Regions from separate parts of the Homo sapiens genome. Here all the other regions are linked to region 1. Evidence: promoter capture Hi-C in 16 types of primary human blood cells and fetal thymus (Javierre and others, 2016). All regions are on one chromosome and are shown on one strand. Each heading gives the region's core, a stretch centred on a gene start or on the middle of the fragment in contact. The rest is flanking DNA. Distances are from core to core; before and after follow the strand shown.

The links. The method cuts DNA at HindIII sites, captures the fragments that hold promoters and counts their contacts. A CHiCAGO score of 5 or more calls a contact.
Region 2: a fragment that was not itself captured here is called in contact with the fragment with the promoter of IL17REL in region 1 in 1 of 17 cell types (non-activated CD4 T cells); the score reaches 5.0 in non-activated CD4 T cells.
Region 3: a contact is called between a fragment that was not itself captured here and the fragment with the promoter of IL17REL in region 1, in 1 of 17 cell types (activated CD4 T cells). The highest score is 5.5, in activated CD4 T cells.
Region 4: a fragment that was not itself captured here is called in contact with the fragment with the promoter of IL17REL in region 1 in 1 of 17 cell types (activated CD4 T cells); the score reaches 5.3 in activated CD4 T cells.

The regions. Positions count from the first base shown.
Region 1 is chr22:50,011,184-50,014,492 of GRCh38, forward strand. It overlaps IL17REL (interleukin 17 receptor E like), which reads right to left and starts at 1,582. Exons shown (of 15, transcript NM_001371417.1): 1 at 1,362-1,582. The coding sequence starts at 1,463. RefSeq lists an enhancer at 1,467-2,067. The HindIII fragment of the contact is 1,957 bases long and covers 260-2,216 here.
Region 2 is chr22:49,773,362-49,776,670 of GRCh38, forward strand. BRD1 (bromodomain containing 1) reads right to left here. Exons shown (of 13, transcript NM_001304808.3): 11 at 2,689-2,798; 12 at 2,230-2,384; 13 at 1-1,055. The coding sequence ends at 872. Among named protein-coding and RNA genes, the nearest start is that of BRD1, 53 kb to the right of the region's middle. The HindIII fragment of the contact is 4,454 bases long and covers 1-3,309 here.
Region 3 is chr22:49,806,163-49,809,471 of GRCh38, forward strand. All of the region lies in intron 2 of BRD1 (bromodomain containing 1), which reads right to left. Among named protein-coding and RNA genes, the nearest start is that of BRD1, 20 kb to the right of the region's middle. The HindIII fragment of the contact is 634 bases long and covers 1,513-2,146 here.
Region 4 is chr22:49,853,185-49,856,493 of GRCh38, forward strand. ZBED4 (zinc finger BED-type containing 4) reads left to right here and starts at 660. Exons shown (of 2, transcript NM_014838.3): 1 at 660-805. It overlaps LOC124905147 (a long non-coding RNA gene), which reads right to left. Exons shown (of 2, transcript XR_007068156.1): 2 at 1,318-2,102. It overlaps LOC105377205 (a long non-coding RNA gene), which reads right to left and starts at 328. Exons shown (of 5, transcript NR_188597.1): 1 at 1-328. RefSeq lists silencers at 8-97, 118-847, 1,018-1,307. The HindIII fragment of the contact is 470 bases long and covers 1,592-2,061 here.

The DNA.
Region 1 (3,309 bases), core at 332-2,831:
CCCACCCCATCTTCCATGAGACCCTCCCTCAGCCCCGCCAAACCCCTCCTCTCCTCTCCCCTCCAGCACTTCCCCTCCTTCCTGGCCTCTTCCACCCGCCTCAGCCCCTGCCCTTGCCCCTGCCCCTTTCCTTGGAGTACTGAGGGTTCAATCTTGGTCCCCACCCATTCCCCAGGATCACCTGGCCGTCCTAGCGTGGACAGCGCGGTCACACCTCGGACCGGGAGGCTGCCTGCATACCCCGCAGCCGCCTCAGCAAAGCTTTCCAGCTTGCACTTCAAGGCCGCCTCCCCCCATGTCTCCCAACTCAGGGACCATTTCCTCCCAGAGGCAAAAGTCGATTCTGAGGTCTCATCTCTCGCTTCTCCTTCCCCCTCCTAGCCAGGATCCCCAGGCCTGCCCCCTCCCTGTTTTCCATCTCCACTGCAGGGTGGCATCCGGTGGACACCCCTCCCACCTGAACCCGCCCATCTCCCCTGCTGCCACCGGTTCCCACGCATCCCAGCCTGCTTTCTTCCTTGTTCCACGAATGCCCTGTGGATCTGAGCCTGCCCATGGCACCCAGCACTCCAGCCCTTGCTGCTCCCCTCCCTGAGCTGAGCCCTCTGCTGGACCCGTCTCAGGCCCTGTGGAGCTGCTGGATGTCCCCGCAAGTGTCCCCTGAGGTGACCAGGCCACCACCCTAAAGGCACATCTTGCTAACTGCTGTCCCCATGCCAGGAACGGTGCACCCAGCAGGTCCTCAGTGAGTCCTCCCTTTCCGGGACACCTTCTGTGCCCTTTCCATGCCTGTGTCCCCACTGTGCCCGGCCAGCCTTGGGCACCGGGGCCCCTTCCTGGGATGCTGGGTACACTTCCTGCTGCAGGTGCTGATGAAGCGCCCTCTCCTGTAAGGCTGAGTGAGTGGGCTGTGCAGTGAGAGCCCTCCACCCCAACCCAGCCACCTCCACTGCCAACATCTCATTCTCAGCACGTTCTCCGAGTGTTTCCTTGGCAGGTGTCTACACAAGCCCAGGTGTTGCGGGCTCCCGATGGCTCAGAGCAGCCGAGCGGGGTGGGGTGGGAGCCCCGGATGGGCTTGCGGGCTGCCCTAGATTCTAACACAGCCTCCTTGGAGGTCACAGGTGGGTCCGAGGTGGGCTCACCCTGCCTTGAGCTTCCAGCAAACACTTCCCGGAGCAGCTCGGCAGGGTCAGGCCAGGTCTCCCATCCTTCTTTCACCAGCGCTGCCCTCGGACCCCCCAGGGCCCTGCAACCCCTCACCTGCTGATGTGCTGAGAGCGTCAGGCCAGACCCACCTGAGGAGAAACCAGGGCCTTATCTGCCACAGTGTAGGGGCCTAGGAGGAGGCAGGAGCTTACCTGAGAACAGGAGAGGCCACATTCTGTAATCCGGGGGATGGCCAGGCTCTGGAAAGTGCCCCAGGTCAGGCCCAAGAACGCGAGTGCTTGCCCAGCCAGCATCTGGCTGTGCAGTGAGAGCTCCCACTGGTAAGCGTGGATGTGAGTGGGGCAAGTTTGCAGGATGCCCTGTGGCAGCGGCTCCAGGCTGACCCTGCAGCTCCAGCCCCAAAGACAAACAGAGGGTGGAGGCTGCTCTTCACAGCTGGAGCGAGCGAGACACTCCCCCTCCCGGCAAAACAGGGCTCGCTTCACAGACAGCAGCCCGGGAGACTTTCCACCGCCTGGGGCCAGAAGACTGTGGCCAGACACTTGTGGAGTTTCTAGGTTTCCAAAGGAAGCATCCAGAAACCTTGGGGCCTTTGGGGTCCGAGGACACCCTAATGGGGTTCCCCACAGGGCGGCCACTGGTGCAGAGATGGCTCCAGGCCGGCGGGATAGGCTGCCGCCGGCGTGCACCTCCCTCAGGCATGCATGAGGCCAGGAGGGTAGACAAGGGCCCTGGAAAGCTGGCTGGGCTGGCAGAGGGGTGGAATCTGTCCTGGGCACTCATACCCCAGAGCCCCTGGCTTCAGCCCCAGCCCCTAAGGGGAGCCCTCTCCTAAGACCTGAGATTCCACCCAAGTCCCTGGCCTCCACCTCCCCTCAAGATGCAAAAGGCCACCTCCCCTGTGTGGTCCTCCCTATGAGCCCCCCCCCACTCCGGAGGGCACCCCCCGAGGCTGGGAACTCTGGGGCCCAGCCTCTGCTCAGGGAGCCGTTCTGTGTCATCTTCTTATTTGGAGCATCAAATGCATAGGAAAGTTTCTGGGCAGAAGCTTACTGCTTCCCATTTGCCTCCAGCCAGGGCAGGGGGTTGGAGAGAACCAGGGTGCAGTTCTTGGGTCCTCCTGGCTCCTCCCTTCCTGGACAGGCACAGAGGCTTCTGCACCTGCCTCAGGTTCTGGGAGGGCACTGCCCCACGTGTGTGTGTGTGTGTGTGTGTGTGTGTGTGTGTGTGTGTGTGTGTGTGTCTGTGTGTGTGTGGGGGGGGGATGGCGGGAGTTAATAGCTGGGGAGCCTGGGAGTGTCTAGCTGGGGTGTTCTGCCTGGAATACCCACAGGACACCCCAAGTGTGGAGGGCGGCACCACCCCCAGGCTGGGAGAGGCTGTGGGCCTCACACTGTGGGCTCGGGTAGTCAGGAGGGAGCTTGAGAAACAAGCTCTGGGGTTCGGTCCCAGGGGAGGGAAGGCGGCAGGGGCTGCTGTGACCGTGAAGTCCTCCCTCCCTCCCACCACCCCGCACTGCCCACCTCCCTGCCTCCTGGGCCAGCACCTCGACCCTGCCCCCGCCTGGCCTAGAGCCCTCCATGGGCTGGAACTTATGCACTCACTGCTGGGCAGAGTAGATGGGGCTGAGCCCGCCCCCTGCAGCAGCGTGCCTGTGGCCACAATGCCCTGGAGAGAGTGGCTAGTGCCAGCCTCCATGCCACGGCATGGTCAGCAGCAGGCAGGCACATTTGGGGGTGGCTCAGGACGGGCCACTGTCATCCCCTATCCCAGGCTGGCTGAGCTGTAAGACAGATACTCCAGCTGGGCCTCGCCCCTCAGCCTGGCCTCCAGCCCTCCTTATACCAGGGGACGATGGGGGCTGCTGTACTGTGGCAGGGGTGTCCCAGACGATGTCCATGGGCACGGCCAGCAGGATCATTGGGAAAGGACAAATGTCCCTCCCCCATGGGCCCACTCACACCCAAACCTCTCTCCAGGCCTCTCTGGGACAGGCCCCCACCACGACACACCCGTTGCCTGAAGGCGCCATCCCAGCGTGCCGTGACGCAGGCAGGGGCTGCAGGTGGCCAGTAGTCGGTGATCTCGTGTAGGGACGGCCCACGGGGTGTGGCTGGTGCTGGTTCCAAGGCCCAGGGA
Region 2 (3,309 bases), core at 322-2,821, 240 kb before region 1:
CTCTTAAAAATAAAAATAAAGTACTAATTCTATATACATCACAGGTACCATACAAAAATGTATCCAAAGTTTCTATTGCTACCAAAGTGTTCTAAATTAAAACAAGTTACAGAAAGCCCCTCATTGTAAACAAAAGATTACAAGTTATAAAATCAAAGTACACACAGGCCAGAGTCATTTATACAATGCAATGCATTCTGCTCCCAAGCCAAGTTGAATTTTTATGTGCCTGTATAAAAATGCATATCAATATACCTTTGCAAATGTATTTTTCATTATAAAGCAAATGAATACACTTTCTACAATAAATAATCCGCTGGGAGGCACACCTGCGGGGTTTGAGGTGGGCGGGACGACGGGAGCGGGGACACACCCACCGGCGGTCACGGGCAGCGGAGTGTTTTTGGTGATCTGCAAGTGATGTACACAGCATAACTTTATTCTCCCCTCTTTCCACAAAGTACCATTCAAAATAATGTCATTTTCTTTCTTAAAATACACATTTGTCATTGTAAATTTACATCCCGTCTTATTAAATAAGTGGTACTCTGTGTAAAGAGCATGATTTACAAAATTATTAAACATTCAAAAGTCTTTAAGAAAAAGCTACATATCAAAGAAAGTGACGCCAGCAGCACGGCCTGGGGACGTGCGACAGACGCACTGGGCTGCCCGGACGTGCCCACCCCACTCACAGCGCCCAGACGGAGATGGGTTCCTAGAAAACTTGGAAATAAAACCTCCCCCCTCCCCGGGGAAAAAGAATTAAAGAGCTATAACTAAAAATCAGAATAAGTTAAGTTTTGAACAATATACAAACATGTACAGCTTATCAACACTATGGACAAGACCCGCGCTGGCGGCCGGGCCGTCAGTCAATGTCACTGAGGTCGCTGGTCGGCTCCCCGTGGACGCGGCTCAGGTGGTTCATGGCGCGGTCAAAAGCGATCCGCACGGCCTTCCGGATGCTGGAATTCCTCCCTTCCATCATCTTTAACTTGTCTATAGTTTCGTCAATACCAAGGGGAACCATTTTGGACTTAGGAAGCCACTGCCTTTTTAAAAGGAAAAACAAGCGGAAAATCATTGCTTGCACATGGTATTTCAGCAGGCTCCATGTAATCATCTAACAAATTCACTGCCCTCCGATAGAAAGGGGCCCTGCTCAGCACCACCAAGACAGCTGGGCCCCGTGCAGGGACAGGCCCGAGGCCAGGAGTGCACCCCTCCCTTCCCCTCCCCGACTTGGGGATACGGGGAGCTAAGTAAGGCATAAAAACCATCACCTCCTCCTCCACCTCCAAAACGTTTCCCAGTGCCTGCTTAGTGACAAGACATGCACACACCAAGCCCAGAGTCAGGGTGGGCCCTGGAGCAGAGGCCGGTGGTTGGGGAGACCCCATCAAAGGGGCCCTCGGATGGACAAGGTGTGGGCCTCGCTCAAGGCCTGACAAGAAGCAGTGGCCACGTGGCCAAAGAGGCAGAGGTCGAGGCAAGGAAGAGAAAGACGGTAGGGATGCCTGTGCTGCCAGTCCTGCTCCAGGCACACCATAGGCAGGTGGCCCCGAGCCCCTGCGCCAGGTCCCAAGTGCAGCCAGCTCCACGGGGAACCAGGAAGCACCTGCCCGGGCCACGTGCGCAGGGCACAGCCGGGGCCACAGCTCCTCCCAGAGGCATGTGCTGCCAGCGTGTCCTGCACAGAGGGATCTTGGGGTCTAAACCCTGGCACATGAGGGTCCCAGACGCTCTGGGGAAAAGCAGCTCAGGGCACAGGGGGAGCCTCCTGTGATGGGGTGGATGTCTGAGCAGAGCTGGATGATGCTGGGACAGAAGGCTCTAAGAACAGGGCCAGAGGCCAGGCCCGGGCAGGGGCCATGTCCTGCAGTACAGGGGTCCGGGAGCACAGCAGAGGGACCCCCAACACTGGAGCGGACACATGGGTAAGGAGTAGGGAAGAGACAGTCCAGACCAATGGGGCTCAGGCGAGAGGGAGAGGAAGCCATCGGGCAGAGACAGACCCGGTGCTCAGTGCCCGTCCCACAGTCCCGGCGAGGGGGCTGGGCAGTGCCCTTCTCCACCAGGCAAACAGCGGAGCACTCACCTCCGACTTTAGCTGTGCCAGGGCCCAGCAGACAAAGACGCTGCTCACCACAGGGACACTCAGGTCACCGAGCCCACGGCCCCCAACCACCCCAGCCGGTCCCCGGAGTCTAAGGCCTCTCAACTCACCAACTTCTCTTATTATCAAAAAAGAGAACGAGGAACAGCTTCTCATCAGACTTGGTCTGCATGTGCTCCCCAATCTTCAGCACGTCCAGGGGTGGGGCCGGGATGGTGACGCCGTTGTGGTGGCCAGGCACACGGGGCATCTTGGGGTCGATGATCTGCACGAGAAGGACCCGCTGAGGTCATTGTGAGGCTCACACCCATAAACAACCCCACCTGTCACTGGCACCCCCCCCCGCCTCCCCACCCCAGCTGTGTGAGCCTCCTCAGACCACCCCCACGCCCCCCTCGCCGAACCACCCCTGCCCCTTCCAGCTGTGTGAACCTCCTCTGACCAACCCCGCCCCCCCGCCAGCTGTGGAACCTCCTTGGACCACCGCCGTGAGCCTCCTCGGACCACCCCCGCCCCGCAGCTGTGTGAGCCTCCTCTGGACCCGCAGGCGCCACGAGAGCCGTACTCACCAGTGCCGGGTAGGAGGGGTAGCCGCTGCACTTGGCCCACACCACCTTCAGAGGCTCCAGCACCGAGGCGGCGGCATCAGTGGAGATCCACATGCTGCTCTGGCCGACTTCTGCGGAGAGGGGCGTCAGCAGGACACAGGCGTCAGCAGGACACGGGGCACGCCCCGCCCCCCCACAAAAGGTGCAGCAACAGGGTGGGTCCCCCGAGCACAGCCCAGCTCCCAGGCCTTTCTCAGCCACCCCGGCAGCACCACTGCCTCCCCTGTGGGGTCCAGGCCCTTGCATCCCCACTGTCCCTGCAGCCCACCTGGGGCCACCAGCCTCCCACGGACCCAGGGAAGCTCCTGCCCTCCAGGCTACAAGGCTCCAACTCCAGGTGCCCAGCACAGTCCCTTCTGAGCCCTCCTTGCCGCAAGGACGGGGCTCCCAGCATGCTCCTGCCTCATTTACACAACTGACACCCCAAATGGGAAACCAAAGTCCTGGCTCCCCCTCCGCCAGACCAGCTCCCTGCTGTCCCTCCCACCTGGGGGATCTCCGTCCTGATGCCCCCTCACAGCATGGCTGCCTTCCACAGTGAGGGCTGTGCGACCCCAAACCCTGGGGCCTCCCCCTCCCCCA
Region 3 (3,309 bases), core at 580-3,079, 200 kb before region 1:
CCAGCCAGCCCTATCTCTTAAAAAAGAAAGAAAGAAAGATTCTGTTTGTTTTTATTTCTTCTGACCCATGAGATGTGAGAAAAAATTCTGACCTCATCACAACAAGCCACCATCTTCTCCAGAGTCAGGGCTTCTGGAAATGTCAACAGCCCACAAGTTGTGAGCAAAAAGGCTTTGATGAAAATGCTTTAAAAACTTAAGAGCCAGATGCAGAGGTGTGCGTCTGTGACCCCAACTACTTGGGAGGCTGAGGGAGCTCATGTGAGCAAGAGGCTGAAAACCCCAAAATTAGAGTGAGGAAGAGCATGGAAGAGCAGCTTCCCAGCTGAGGCGATGAGCACCCCCACTCAACTCGGACAGAAGAGTTAAGGGGAAACAGACCTCAGATAAGAAAACTAAGCAAAGACATACATATGACAACCACAGAAAGCAGTCCCTGAGGGCTGGGTGGACTGAGATGCCGGCAATACGGGCAAGATGAAGGAGGCCTGGGGGCAGCAGCCGCAATGCCCACCTCAGGGATGACTGCAGACAAGTCAGAACCCACACTAGGAGCCGGGCGCGGTAGCTCACGCCTATAATCCCAGCACTTTGGGAGGCCGAGGCGGGCGGATCACCTGAGGTCAGCAGTTCGTGACCAGCCTGGCCAACATGGTGAAACCCCGTCGCTACTAAAAATACAAAAATTAGCCGGGTGTGGTGGTGCGTGCCTACAATCCCAGCTACTCGGGAGGCTGAGGTGGGAGAATCGCTTGAGCCCGGGAAGCGGACGTTGCAATGAGCCAAGATCGCACCATTGCACTCCAGCCTGAGGAACAAGAGCGAGACTTTGTCTCAAAAAAAAAAAAAAAAGAACCCACACCAGGGAAAAGAACCCCGGAAATGAGGGAGGTCACCAGAGTTCCAACATCAAGTATTCCTTGGATTTTTGTTAAGCCCAGTCTACATGCTGACACATAAATACTTTACCATGGGACCCACTAAATGCACTAGGGAACGTATGGATAGGAAGACCAATATTGTTAAGATGTCAATACCACCGAAAGTGATCTACAGATCCAATGCAATTCCTATCAAAATACCAATGATGTCTTTTGCAGAAATAGGAAAATCCACCCTAAAATTCATATGGAAACTCAAGGAACACCCAACAGCCAAATCACCTTGAAAAAGCTGTAAAAGTCACGCTTCCTGACTTCAGAACTTACCACAAAGCTACGGTCATCAAAACAGTGCGGTGCTGACGAAAGGACACACATATAGACCATGGGAATAGCAGAGAACCCTGAAGCGAACCCTCCCGTATCCAGCAGAGACTGTTGACAAGGGTGCCAAGACCATTCAGAGGGGAAAAGACAGTCTTTTCAGCAGATGGCACCAGGACAAGTGGATATGGCCATGCAAAAGAATGTGAAGTTGGACCTTGCCTCATTTCACACACAAAAATTAACTCAAAATCGAAGACCTAGACATAAGACCTAAAACTATAAATCTCTTAAAACAGAAGGGAAAAGCTTCATGACACTGGATTTGGCAATGATTTCTTGAATAAGACACCAAAGGCACAGGAAACAAAAAGAAAAAATAAACTGGGCTTCATGAAAAATGTTAAAATGTGTGCATTAAAAGACACACAGCAGAGTGAATGGGAGGAAATATTTTCAAATCACGTATCTGAAATGGGATTAATATCCAGAAACTCCTAAAACTTGACAAAAAATAATCCAATTCAAAACTGGTTAAAATACTCAAATAGACAATTCTTCAAAAGTGCAAATGCTCAATAAACACAGAAATGCAAATCCAAACTATGATGTCACCTTCACACCTATTAGAATGGCTATCAAAAAATACTAACAAAAAACAAAAAAAAAATGTTGGTAAGGATGTGGAAACCCTGAACCCTTGCGCACCGCCGGCAAGAACGTAAAAAGGTGTAGCCGCTGTGGAAAACAGTGTTGTGGCTCCTCAAACACTTAAAGACAGAAATGCCGTGTGACCTGGCAATCCCACTTCCGGGTATACACCCAAAAGAACTGAAAACAGGCTCAGATACTTATCACCCATGTTCTTCACAGCATTATTCACGATGGCTAAAACATGGAAGCAACCCAAGAGCCCATGGAGGAAGGAATGGGTAAGCAAAAGCTTATCTCCACATACAGAGGGTTATTCAGCCTTAAAAGGCAAGGAAGTTCCAATGCATGCAATGACATGGAAAAGCCTTGAAAATGTGCTCAGTGCAATAAGCCAGACACAAAAAGACAAATACTGCCTGATTGCGCTTATGTGAGGGACTGAAGAGGAGTCAAATTCATGGAGACAGGGAGTAGAACGGTGAACGCCCGCAGCCAGGGAGGGAGGAATGGGGAGTTCCTGTTTAACTGGGACAGAGTTTCAGACTGGGAAGACAAAAAGGCTCTGAAGATAGATGGTGGTGATGGCTGCACAGCAACAGCAATATCAAAGTGCTTCATGCCCCTGAGCTATACACTTACAATGATTAAGATGGTACATTTTATGTTATGTGTACGTGACCACAGTAAAATACTGAAAAAACTTGAATACAGAGAGTTAAATGGAATGTGCACCTTCCAAATGAGTAGAGGAGGAAAAATGCCCCCGACTCCAAAACAGCAAAACCATCTGAGTCAATACATCAGAAGAAAAAGTGAGCCGGGCGCAGTGGCTTCCGCCTGTAATCCCAGCACTTTTGGAAGCCGAGGCAGGCAGATCATGAGGTCAGGAGTTCAAGACCAGCCTGGCCAACATGGTGAAACCCCATCTCTACTAAAAATACAAAAAAATTAGCCAGGCATGATGGCACACGCCCGTAATCCTAGCTATTCAGGAGACTGAGGCAGGAGAACTGCTTGAACCCGGGAGGAAGACATTACAGTGAGCCGAGATCACACCACTGCACTCCAGCCTGGGCAACATAGCAAGACTCAGTCTCAGAGGAAAAATAAAGAAAAAGGGAAAAAAAGGATCATGGAAACAAATCCAAAATAGATCAGTAATCCAACATAAGTCAACAGTCTAAAGTTGCTAATGAAGAGGTTGTCAATCTGGTTAAAAATTTAAAATTCCAGTTTTAGGCCAGGTGCAGTGGCTCACGCCTGTAATCCCAGCACTTTGGGAGGCCGAAGCAGGTGGATCATGAGGTCAGGAGTTCAAGACCAGCCTAGCCAAGATGGTGAAACCTCGTCTCTACTAAAAATACAAAAATTAGCCAGGCGTGGTGACAGGTGCCTGTAATCCCAGCTACTTGGAAGGCTTGAGGCAGGAGAATCGCTTGAACACGGGAGG
Region 4 (3,309 bases), core at 577-3,076, 160 kb before region 1:
GCACATTTCCTTCAGACCCTGAGAAGCGGGCGAGTCCCGTGCGCTCCGCACCGCCAGCCCCGGCCCCGCGCTCGCCCAGAGGGCCGCCCTCCTCCCGCCGACCCGGCTTGGGGCTTAGGCGTTAATCCCGTCCCCCGGGGGGGCCGCGCGGGGAGCCCCGATCGCCTTAGGGTCAACGGCTTAGGTCCCAGCCCACGAGGCCTGACCGCACCGCACTGAGCGGCCTCTGCGCCAGGTAAGGGGGTTCGGGGCGGGACCGGGAACCGCGCTGCTAGCCGTCCCGGAAACCCGCGGTGGGCCGTTGGGTGCGCGCCGAGCCGCTGCCAACTGCCAAGCCACGGGACGAAACCAAGGCGCCCGCGCCCCGCCCAGCCAGAGCGCCTAAGCCCTTCCCGTCGCCCGCCAGCGCCGGAGCGCCCACTGCGCCTGCGTAGTTTGCCCTCCTGGACCCGGGGGCGGAGCCGAAGCGCGCATTGCGCCTGCGTCTTCCGCCCGACCCCGCCCCAGCGGCCGGGCCTCCGGCGCTCCGTCCTCCCGCCCGGCCAGGGACGAGGCGGGGCGGGTACGCGGACACTGCGCCTGCGAGAGTAGGCCCCGCCCCCGATCGGCCCCGCCCCCGGCCAGCCCCGCCCCGCGCCGCGCGGGGCCCTGGGAGGGGCGCAGCGTCCGGCGGCGTCGCGGGCGGCGGGCGGCGGGGCCGCGGGAGGGGCGCGGGGGCAGACAAAGCCGCGGTAATGAATGGAGCGTCCGCCCGCGCCGCCGTCGTCCGCAGCCGGCCGGGAGCCGCCCCAGAGGCCGGGCCGAGGTGAGTGCGCGGGCGCCGCCGCCCCGCCGCCTGCCGCGAGCCCCGTCCCCCGCGGACCGCGCCGGGGCCGGGCCGGGCCGCGCCATTGTCTGCGCCGCGCCGGGGCCAGGGCCGGGGCCAGGCGGGCGGGGGCGCGGTTCCGTGGCCTCGGGGTCCCCGCCCGGCGCCGCCCCGGACCCGCCCCCGCGCGGACCCCGGCCCTGACAGCTGGCGCGGGGGCGGCGCCGACTGAGCGGCCGAGTGCCGGGGGTCGGCGCCCGGCCTGGCCCACGTGCCCGCGCCGTTGCTTCCGGGCGGACGGGACGGGGCTCGGGCTCGGGGCGCCGCCCGGGTCCGCCGGGAGCGCGCTGTCCCGGCCACGTCGAGTTAACCCCGCGAGCCCCGTCCCTGGGACTTCTCTGGACGTGTCATTCCCGTCCCACCTCCAGGAAGGGCCACCTGGGCCCTGCTTCATGTCTCAGCCCAGACGGGTCCTTGCGACGCGCCCCGAGGCAGGTTATTGTACGTGGTTCTGGGGATGACCGTTCACATTTAATGAATAAAAATGTAACTTGCCTTGCGAACCATAATTTCAAATGTTTTTCGACTGCAGTGGTTTTCCTACACCCAAATGAGCTCGCAGTCAGTTTTGTTTCTTCTTTTGTCCCGTTGTGTGGCCCACACCGCCTTCGTTGCTAAGAGAATCGCAGCCCCTCGGGCTCCCTTCTGCGCCTTTCTATTCCGGGTGGCCCTGGTAGACCCGGGCACCTCTGTGGAAACACGTCCCGGCCAAGCTGAGCCGTCAGAAGCTTCTGTTGGTGTTCTCGTGTTGGTCGAAAGGGAAGTTATTTATTTTGAAGTTAACTCTGATCAGATTACGTTTTTAGAAATCCATTCAGACCTCATAGTGAGGCCAGTTTGGTAAAGCAAGGGCATCCTGCGACTTTTTACACAGAAATGTTTTTTATTTTTTCTGTGTATGTCATTCATAGTGACAAAATTGAGGCTAGGAAGGATTTGGTTGGGATTTTTTTTTAAGTGCTATGAATAAGCCACATTTTGATTATGAATTAATTGCAATTACTAAACAAAGTTACTTTGCAAGAGGAAAGTTTACAGGAGTTTGATTCCATACTCCGAGGGTTTCCAATGGGACGTCCGTACAAGGCTGCACACTTCCCGTAGTCCTTAAACGGATTATATCTGCTTGTCATGATTGGCTTTTTTTCAAGAAAAGATCTAGCACAAGTTAAGAGAGATTCTGTGAATCTTGAAAAAGCTTCAGAGGCCCGGTCTTTGAGGTGAGGACACAGTTAATCTATATGGAAAGAAACCTAAGACTTTTAGTCCACTTGACAGGTGGTTACAGGGTCTCCCCCAACACACACTCTTGTCCAGGTAATTCCTGAATAAGGTGGTTGATGTTGTTGGATGTAAAACCTCTGCTCTTTAAGGTTACCTCCTCCCCAACCCCCTCCACACACACAGTGAGTAACTCAGCTGTGCAAAGTATGTCCATAACACCTTGCAGAAAGACTAAAAAAATTACTAGGGGAGCGGACTGACTTCTGTGTGTGTGCAGAGGAGCTGAGAAGCAGCTTCTTTAGCGAAAGGTGTGTGTGTGTGTGTGTCTCAGATCCTTGGTGAGGAGCCCTGGGGAGTGGACTCCTGGCGGCATGAGGAGCAGGAAGTGACCGTGGTCAGTGCCGTCCTTCACTTTGTTTTGCGTTTTTTTCTTTGCCTGGCTTTAGCTTCTGGTCTCATTCTCTTTGGTGTGGTGGTTGTCTTTTGAGAGGAGGGAGCAGGTGAAACAGCTGGGCGTGGCTTTGCCCAGCCCTGGGGTAGAGGCCAAGCTGGCCCTTCCTTACCAACGTTGTTTCCTTCACTGTTTAAATCTCAGGACCTGAGAATGTACCTATAGGAATTGCTCTTATTTACATTTGGCTGTGTAAGAAAGTCACTGTGCCTTTAGCCCGTGACACCCCTTAGCGGTTTGGTTTTGGCTTTCTCTTTTAGTGTCTGTGGATTCCAGCAGCTCTCTGGCTTCAGCCCTTTCAAGGATTCGGGCCTCTCTGCATCCCAGCCTTCCAGGCCCTTCTGCTCCCCACTTTTTAGCACCTAGGTTTTTCTACATTCTGCAGTACCTCAGATCCCTTCCTTGGTCATCACTGGATATGTGCTTTTGTAGTTCAAATTCTGGGAGGCATTGTTAGGAATAAAATAAGCTCTTTGCCATTTCTGAGGCGGAGGGGAGCAGGAGAGACAGAGGTGCTTGCCTCTCTGCCTGCTGGGGCCATGGTGGTTTTCAAAGAAGGCCCTGGCCGTAGGGAACATGGTGGTGGTGAGGAGCAGCGTAAACCAGAGAAAAAGGCTCAGTAAGTGCTTCAAGGAGAAACACCGGCAGGTGAGAGCAGGGGTAATCCCAGTTTCTCAGGAAAGCATGCTCCGGAGACCTCATAGGGAGAGGAGGTTGCCCTGAAGGGTCTGGGGGCGATGGCGGAAGCCCCAGGAGAGCATTGTCCATG